2 separate regions of the Homo sapiens genome follow, and region 2 is linked to region 1. Evidence: promoter capture Hi-C in human tissues and cell types (Jung and others, 2019). All regions are on one chromosome and are shown on one strand. Each heading gives the region's core, a stretch centred on a gene start or on the middle of the fragment in contact. The rest is flanking DNA. Distances are from core to core; before and after follow the strand shown. Region 1 holds the start of SMAD7 (SMAD family member 7). Region 2 overlaps MYO5B (myosin VB).

Region 1 (4,650 bases), core at 1,233-3,732:
CGAAATCGAGCCACTGGACTCTAGCCCGGGTGAAGAGTGAGACTCTAAAAAAAAAAAAAAAAAGAAAGAAAGAAAGAAAAAAAGATTCTTTAAAGCCCCCAACGAGTTTCACTGCTGGCCTGATCTCACAATTCTCAATGGCTTTTTAAAAAAATCGTATTTCACTGAATATGAAGTGAGGTTAGATCACCATGCCAACTAGTGGCCTCATCAATACTGATGTGTGTGTATTTAAATCATTACGTTTCTCGGAGCCATCAGCTTTCACGCTGTAAATGCGTTTATGCCCTAGCAATGCCATGCCCGTTTCTATGCAGTAACCCGCCAGCTTGGGTATATGTTTCTTCGGGACCTGGGGTCAAGGAATAAACTCTCTGACTCTAAGCACCTTGAAAGCTACGAGGCCCAGAAACAGGGCCTGCATGCAAATGAATGCCCTAGGCAGGTCTGCTCGCTGGGTAACCTTCCCGCGCCGGGAGGCAGGGTGGCGGGTGGCGGAGGTCTTCCGGGCCCGGGAGGAAACCTGCCCGCGGCGCGCAGGCGAGCCCCCACCCCCGCTCCCCTTCTCCCGCCGGGATGCTGCCCCTCACAGCTCGTCAGCCGGCCAAATGCATTCCAGAGCTGTGCACAAGACACACTTCTCCAGGCAGTCCTAGAAACCGGAGCCCGGAGCTGAGAGGGCGGGAGGGAGCGCGCGGCCGCCGCTGAGGTCATATTCACGCCGCCTCCCCGCCCTCGGCGGCTGTTCCCCTCAGCGCACACTTCCCAGGGCCTCGGTCCAGTCCGGTATAAATGTCTTTTAAACCGAGACAGCGCTCTCCTCCCCTTGCCCTCGGGCGCGGCCAAGGGATCCACCGCCAGGGCCTTTAAAACAAAACCAATGAATGAAGCGCTAGGGCGAGCGCGCGCGAGATGGCCACCGCGAAACCCAGCCGGGTCGAAATCGGGCCACCGACCCGCTCGCTCAGCTCCAAAACTCGCGGCGAAGCCCGCTCGGTGCTCCCTGCTTTTCCAATTTCTCCATGGCTCCGGCCGGGGCTCAATCCATTCTGGGAGCTTCTCTGCCCCCCACCTATCTCTCTCCCCTCCATCGGTACCCCCTCTACAGACCCGGGAGGGGGTGGCGGTGGCGGGGGGTTGGGGGGAGAAATAGCTTTTAGAAACCCGATCTGTTGTTTGCGAAACACAATCGCTTTTTTTTTTTTTTTAAAGCGACAGGGTGTCTAGACGGCCACGTGACGAGGCCGGAGCCGGGCGCGCCACTGCGCAGTGGAACCAGCCGAGCAGAGGGCCGGAGGGGGGGTGCGGGGGGGCGGGGAGGAGGCGGCGCGGCTGCGGCGGCTGGGGGCGGGGGAGGGAAGGGGGAGGAAGGGGGAGGGAAGGGGGCGGGGGCGGGAGGCCTTGCGGGAGGCGGTGAGCCCCGGGCACACTCGCTTGCTGCTCGGCGCACGGAAGATCCTGTCCCCGAGCCGCGCCAGCCGAGCCAGCCGGGCGCCGTGCTCGGTCCGCTCGCCGCGCGGGAGAGAGCTGCCCGAGACAGAGCCAGTCCGTCGGCGCCGAGCCGCCGAGCGCCCGGCCCCTGAGCCCCTGAGTGCGGCGCGGCGAGCCCCTGGCGGCGGCAGAAGGACCGGAGCGCCAGGAGAGGGCGGACCGGGGACAAGGAGGCTCCCGGGCGCGACGAGGAGAGTCTCGGAGGAGGAGGCGCCGAGAGGACACCGGGGCCTCCTGCCGCCGCAGCTGGGTCGAGGCGAGCAGCCCATGCGGGGAGCCTCGGCGGCCAGCCGCGGCCAGGGGAAGGGACATCGGCGGCCCCTGCACTAGCAAGCAGCTTGTGCCCGGGGGGGGCGAGAACGCGCGACCCGTCTGGGGCCCTCCGCCGCCGCCGCGCCACCCTCCCCCGCGCTGTCAGCCCCGCCGGGCTCAGCCGCCGCCGCAGCATCTTCTGCCCCTGCGCCCGCGCCAGCCTCGAGGAAGTCCCCGCCGAGGACCTGGGCCCCCAGGAGCGCAGGGGGAAAGACCAGAGACTCCCCTAAACCACCCAGATGCGCAGGATTGAAGCGGTCTAGCCAAAGCTTTCTGTGGATTAAAAAAATACACGATTTTTTTTTTTTTTTTTGGCAGAAGAAAAGGAGAGGAAGACCAGCGGGGCTTTGCAAGGAAACGGGGGGATGTAACTCGTGGATACATTTTTCCACCCATCAAACATCTTGTTATACTTTGTAAACATTTTCTTTTTTTAAACCCCAGTTCCAGCCGGACGCCCCCAGACCTCTGAGGTTCGAGGAGGTGGTGGTTTTCATTTGGGGCTTTGCATATTTGGTTGTTAGGTTTTGCGAGAGCCTTCTTATTTTGCCAGACGTCTCATGCGGGGTGAAGTCCACTCGGCCCCCTCCCCTGAGTCTTCGTGTGCGCGGAATTCGAGGAGATCCGGTTACTAAGGATATAGAGGAAAAAAATAAATCGCTTGCTTTTTTTTTTTTAATTGCCTGCTTCTCCCCACCCCCAAATTAAGTTGCTTAGCAAGGGGGAAAGAGGCTTTTTCCTTCTTCCAACAGCCCAGCCGAACGCCTTTCGTTTTTTGCCCCCGCGGACCTTCCATGTAGGAAGCCGAGGCTGGCGAGCCCGACATTCGGGAGCCACTGCGGGGGGGCCTCTTTTTGGGGAGGCGCCGACGGGGGCAGGCTCGGCCGTCCCCAGGGAAGCGGCGGCCGGGTTCCTCCGGGGCGCGCCGGGGCCGGAGAGCCGCGCAGGGCGCGGGCCGCGCGGGGTGGGGCAGCCGGAGCGCAGGCCCCCGATCCCCGGCGGGCGCCCCCGGGCCCCCGCGCGCGCCCCGGCCTCCGGGAGACTGGCGCATGCCACGGAGCGCCCCTCGGGCCGCCGCCGCTCCTGCCCGGGCCCCTGCTGCTGCTGCTGTCGCCTGCGCCTGCTGCCCCAACTCGGCGCCCGACTTCTTCATGGTGTGCGGAGGTCATGTTCGCTCCTTAGCAGGCAAACGACTTTTCTCCTCGCCTCCTCGCCCCGCATGTTCAGGACCAAACGATCTGCGCTCGTCCGGCGTCTCTGGAGGAGCCGTGCGCCCGGCGGCGAGGACGAGGAGGAGGGCGCAGGGGGAGGTGGAGGAGGAGGCGAGCTGCGGGGAGAAGGGGCGACGGACAGCCGAGCGCATGGGGCCGGTGGCGGCGGCCCGGGCAGGGCTGGATGCTGCCTGGGCAAGGCGGTGCGAGGTGCCAAAGGTCACCACCATCCCCACCCGCCAGCCGCGGGCGCCGGCGCGGCCGGGGGCGCCGAGGCGGATCTGAAGGCGCTCACGCACTCGGTGCTCAAGAAACTGAAGGAGCGGCAGCTGGAGCTGCTGCTCCAGGCCGTGGAGTCCCGCGGCGGGACGCGCACCGCGTGCCTCCTGCTGCCCGGCCGCCTGGACTGCAGGCTGGGCCCGGGGGCGCCCGCCGGCGCGCAGCCTGCGCAGCCGCCCTCGTCCTACTCGCTCCCCCTCCTGCTGTGCAAAGTGTTCAGGTGGCCGGATCTCAGGCATTCCTCGGAAGTCAAGAGGCTGTGTTGCTGTGAATCTTACGGGAAGATCAACCCCGAGCTGGTGTGCTGCAACCCCCATCACCTTAGCCGACTCTGCGAACTAGGTGAGAAGTTGTCCCCCTACCCCCAACATTTTCCGGAGCGCCAGTGCTGGAAGAAAAGCCCCTAGGGCAGTGCGTTTGTGCAGCCATCCCTCCAGGGGGAGTGTGCATACCCTCCTGGGAGAGTGTGCATACCCTCCTGGGAGAGTGTGCATACCCTCCTGGGAAGAGACTGGGGGCTGAAAGTAGAGAAGGGACAAGGGGAAACTCAAAGGGCATTCCCTGGGGGTTCCCTTCCAGGTTTTCTCCTGTGTTGCCCCGAAGGGGTCTACGGGCACTGCTCCTGCAGTCTGCGGTTAAAAATTAGACGCCTTCATTTCCGGATCAACAAGGGGGTGCAGAGGGAGGTGGGGGGGTCACGCCTCCCCGCACCCGGAAAGACGTTGAGGTGTGTGGCCGAGTTGGATTTGGTCCAGGCCCGCCAAGGAAGGCTGGGAGAGGCGTGCTATAAAGGCTGGAAGGTCTCCGTATTTACTCCTTTAGTAAATACGGAGAATCACGTCGAACACCAGTGGCCCAGATACTGTCGTGGCCGCGCACCTTTGGAGTTTTGGGGCAAAGAGAGTTGGATGGAAGGCCGAACTGGGTATCTGTCTCCTTTCAACTCTGCCAGCCCCAGGGTGCAGAGGAACAAACAGGCAGGAGAAGTTGGGTGTCCCCTACTTTTTCCTTCCTTCCGCACAGATAAGTCTGTAGATTAGTGGGGCCCCGGCGCCTCAGTGACGTTGTCGCCTCTTACTGCGCTGGGGCCTGGGCTTCTCGGCTGAGACCCTGAAACTCCTTTCCTTTTATCCTCTCAGCTTTCTCCATTCCTTCCTTTACTCTACGTCTCTGTACACAGAGTGTGATGTGAGGGTTCACCCCGGGCGCCCGCAGATCCCCCACGTTCCCCAGCACGCTTGGGATGCATCTCCCGAGTGCGCTAGGAATGGGCAGCCCCGTGTCCCCCGCGCGAGTGCCGAGCGGACCGGCGGGGGCAGAGGTGAATTGCACGCCTGGGGGGCGGGCCGGGGCGGGG
Region 2 (4,650 bases), core at 793-3,292, 870 kb before region 1:
AAATAATGGTACTAATAACCATGATAATGGCATATACTGACATTTCCCAAAGTTTGCAAACCATAGGTGTGGTTGAGTTTGTGGTGAGATGTTTTAAGAACAAAAATATGGGGATGAGACTTCTGAGAAATATTCCCAAAATATTTTTTAATGGCTGATTATACACAGACAGTGGTGTAACTGACCTCCAGACCAGACATTTTGAGTACTGGTTTCTGAAGCAAAATTAGAAGTGCCAGTCCTCAGTGTGCTCAAACGCTTTTGTGTTATCTTGATTTAATGGAAGAGATTATTAAAATGCTGCTATCCCAAACTCCAAGTGAGAAAGATGGAAAAATATTTTGTTTCTGATGCTAGTCCATACACTTTCCAAGTCCCACAAAACTTTCACAAAAATGTATATAAGCTAAATATTAGAAACGGATAACAAACTTGTTTTATTTATAGATGTAAAAACCAAACAAGTCAATATGAAAGCTTTTAATCTCTTAATACCATTAAGCTTCCAGTAAGAGCATCACATAATGCTCTACTGTTCCAGAAACCAAATAGTAAAACAAACTAAAGTTCGCACATCAGATCATCTGAAAAACCTTCAAAAATAATCAGTTCAGGGATATTATACAAAAGTTTGGGTTTTTTTTTTTTAAGAGAATAAAATGGCTTAGGTCAACTTTCCCTTTTCAGGTTATTTTCAACGTTTTTCAAATTTAGCACACAAAAAATTGTAAATATCTCTCCCACAAAATAAGGATTTTAAAAAAGTAATTCAGTAATATAACAGGCTTAGATGTTTGCTGCTCTTAGAATTTTTTTTAACTTGTTTTTGGTTTCTTCAAAAGCAAGCATTCAATTGGAAACCCATATTCTTTCCACACTTTTTTTTACTGTCTTTTCTGTATTTCTTGATAGCAGTATGCTGTTCCCATAAGAAAAAAATGGTATTTGCAAATCATGGAAGAACAGCCTCTGTATTACATTGAGAAAATAAGATTTATCCATGAATTGGAAGTAGAACAGCCTGCCTTCACCCTCTTTTACTCAACCACCCAACTTAAAAGGCTCTTGGAAACACAGCACACTCCACGCTACCTTCTGCACTGTGCCCTTAGAGCACAGCTTCCTCAGTTGTTCTCTGCATCTCCTGGGGCTTAGGCCAGTCTTAGCCTGGGTTAAGGCTGCTGACATTGTGTTCCAATCAGTTGTCATGGGCATTATCCCCTCTACATCCACATTAAACATGCCGGCTTCTCTTGGGCATCGGCAGAGCTGTGCCTTTTTCTTTCAGTTACAGTTACATAATCACTGACGTCCATGACACTTACCCATGGATCCATGTGCTGACTTCATTTAGAAGGCCAATCTAAAACAACTGGGTTTGTGGCTACCTCTTTAAAGTTGTTTGTGAAGGATAATTTGTTTTTTAATGCACTTTAGTTTGAAAGTGAGTCTCTTATGTAAGGACCATCCTTAAAAGACCAAAAATGCCTTGTTAGAGTGTTAAGGAGTTTTGACATGCAGTGGTTCCACAAACACAGTGGCTTACTATCCTTATACACTGTCTTATACCATCATTCTCTCCATCTCTCTTGGTCACTACTCTCTGCTGTCACTGGTTAATCACTAGGTGCCAAGAGCTTACTGAATAAAAGCTTGGCAATTAGAATAAATGGGGAGGGAAGGACCTTATGAATAGTCCATTTAGCCTAAGAAATGGCAGATTTAGTTCTTCTCTTCCAAAAGATAAAGGTATATCCTGGAATTGTACTTAAAACTTACAGATGACTAACAAATATATACTTTATATGTAGTTAATATTTAGATCTGTCTTATTTAATACTTGGAGGCTAGAAGAAGCATCTTTAGGGGAACTATATAATCTTTTGTTAGCATTTTCTCTGCATTTTAAAAAATCATTTCAATTCAAACATTTATCAGTGTCATGAAATCAGTAATGACTCTTTAACAATTCAGGTTTGAACTCTGCATTAGATGTCTCTTTAATTTTTTAATATTTAAAATTTAGTTGACATTTTTTTCACCAGGTGCCTTTAGCGGTTACTAAGATAACTGACATCAGTTGTTTCTCTGAAATAAGTGTTGCTGTGGGAATAATTTTAATGTTCAAGGTGATATCATGGGGGAGTTTTGTCTTTTAAAACATTAGAAGCATTTTAAATATTAAGAATCAAATATTTATAGATCAAAACTTGTGTTTTAAGTATTATACGGGACCTGTTTACTTATAGTAAATGTGAATGTACACATGAGTTGTTGCTGAAGCTGACAAGCATATTACATACATGCATTTTCCCTGTGCCCTCATAGTTGCAGTTAGAGTTCCAGTACCTGTAGGCTCACCTGGGAGGCAGATTAGACCCAAAGGTAGATGTTTTTCCCCTTTCCATGAAGCATGTCAGTGGGAGTTGCTTCCTTTGATTTCCCTAGTACTAAATTTTAAGGCTTTTGTAAAAACAAAACAAAACTAGGAGCTTGGAACAGTTAAAAATCAACACTGCTACCATCAATTCATCAAATATTTACTTAGAGCTTTCATACATTAAGATTCCAGTAACCAATAAATTAGAATTCATTTCTTCTGCATAAAGTAAATTTTCATACACTTGACCTACTAAGACAGCAAGGGTGTCCTAAATTGAGGCATTTGTATAATGCCTGCATAACTAAATGGTCACTAAAATGGGACAGCATGGGGCAAGACCTTGTAGTTCTTCACAGAATATTTGTGGTCAGTTTCTCCAATTAATTTGCTGCATGAGCCAAATAACCATAATTCACTTTTTATACCCACTGGTGCCATAATTAGAGAATTAGAGGGTGTAGACAGAGGTTAATGCCAATGAGAAACACAGGACAGGGTTTTTTTTATTATAAAGGTCATTAGATACAAAAGATTGTTTTTCAAAAAATTTCTAATTCTAACAAAGGGGATCAATCAGAAATGAAACTAAGCTACTTTCTAAAGTGACACTGTATCAGAATAATCCAGATTTGAATATAACATTTTGCCACCAACTGACATTTAGATGAAGGACTGCCTCTCTGAAAGAGTTCAGATCATATTCAGGGGTGAATCCAACACCATGGAAGAAAGACTACTGATGAAAATATTTTCCCACTTTGCACAAATCTGTAAACTACACCTTTGTTTATAGAAAAATGCTTGTAATAGTCACTGTAATATTTAGCTGTGGATAAAAATTTGTGGAAATAAATACTTTTGAATAAAGAGGTGTGCCAAATCTAAATGAAATTTAAAACTCTGCAGCTACAGGTTGACAAAGTTTCTTTGTAATGCTCTCTTGAGAAGCTTCATTATGGGGCCTATATTCTAATACGTGTCAAGATCATTTAAACCAGAGGTCAGCATCTTACAGTCCAAAAGTTGGGGGCAGGGAGAAACTCTCAGATAACAAGGCTTATTGAGCAATTACTTTAAAGCTATGGAATTAAAGGCAGTTTTGGTGTAGGCAAAGACAAGTAGATCAACGAAACAGAATAGGGAGTGCAAGGATAGGCCCAATCCTATGTATAACATAGCATACGGTAGAGATGGCATGAAAAATCAGTGGGGAAATAGTCATAAGATCTGTATGGAGGAATTTGTAAAATATAAGTGAAAAACAATGACAACATTAAAATGGAGAAATAATTAGGTACAAGAATTCGAAGACTCCATACCACTAAAAGTTTGTCAGTTGTCCCCAAGTTGATCTATAGATTAAAAATCAAAATTTCAACTGTTTCTATGTGAAAACTGACAAGCTCATTATAAGATTTATATGGAAGAGCAAAGGCCCATGAATAAGGAAGACCCTCCTTGAGAAAGTGGGAAGCTTTCCTTAGCAGGCATTGAGACTTACAAAATTTCAGTAATTAAGATGTGTGAGGATGACAGACATGGAAATTTTTTTTTTTTTTTTGAAACAGAGTTTCGCTTTTGTTGCCCAGGCTGGAGTGCAATGGCACAATCTCAGCTCACCGCAACCTCCGCCTCCCAGGTTCAAGCAATTCTCCTGCCTCAGCCTCCCTAGTAGCTGGGATTATAGGTATGTGCCACCATGCCCAGCTAATTTTGTATTTTTAGTAGAGACAAGGTTTCTCCATGTCTGTCAGGCTGGTCTCAAACTCCCGACCTCAGGTAATCCACCCGCCTCGGCCTCCCAAAGTGCTGGGATTATAGGCGTGAGCCACCGCGCCCGGCCCTGGATGTGGAAAAATTGACCAGTGGAACAGAATAGCCCAGAAACTGAGCATCTATATGGAAATACTGATACATTTTTTCTTAACTGGGAGTACACATCAAAATCACCTGGAAATCTTTAAAAAAATTTACACCCAAATTTATGGAATAAGACACCTCCAGAGATGGTGCCCTTCCACACCCATTGTTAACCTGACCCACCTAAAAATATACAAGAAGACATCCCCAGGGATGGTGCCCTTAAGCACCCATCATTAGAGACCACTATTGAAATATTTCATGATCCAGAAAAATGGTCACAGTATAATTAGTCCTCAACGTCACTGATAAGTTCTAGGAAACCACGAGTATAAACAAAATGACGTAATGACACCAATTTTAACATAAGCTAGTTGATATAAACAGTTCCTTCGGCATATTTATGG

Evidence for each region. Contacts are between HindIII fragments. The study calls those that stand out against the background at their distance.
Region 2: a contact is called between a fragment that was not itself captured here and the fragment with the promoter of SMAD7 in region 1, in 1 of the 25 tissues and cell types used here (lymphoblastoid cells).

What each region holds. Positions count from the first base shown.
Region 1 is chr18:48,948,797-48,953,446 of GRCh38, reverse strand. SMAD7 (SMAD family member 7) reads left to right here and starts at 2,482. Exons shown (of 4, transcript NM_005904.4): 1 at 2,482-3,635. The coding sequence starts at 3,023. RefSeq lists silencers at 399-738, 1,309-2,008, 3,225-3,544, 4,585-4,650. The HindIII fragment of the contact is 10,376 bases long and covers 1-3,704 here.
Region 2 is chr18:49,821,413-49,826,062 of GRCh38, reverse strand. MYO5B (myosin VB) reads left to right here. Exons shown (of 40, transcript NM_001080467.3): 40 at 1-3,274. All of the region lies in intron 1 of SNHG22 (small nucleolar RNA host gene 22), which reads right to left. Among named protein-coding and RNA genes, the nearest start is that of SNHG22, 9.7 kb to the right of the region's middle. The HindIII fragment of the contact is 3,104 bases long and covers 491-3,594 here.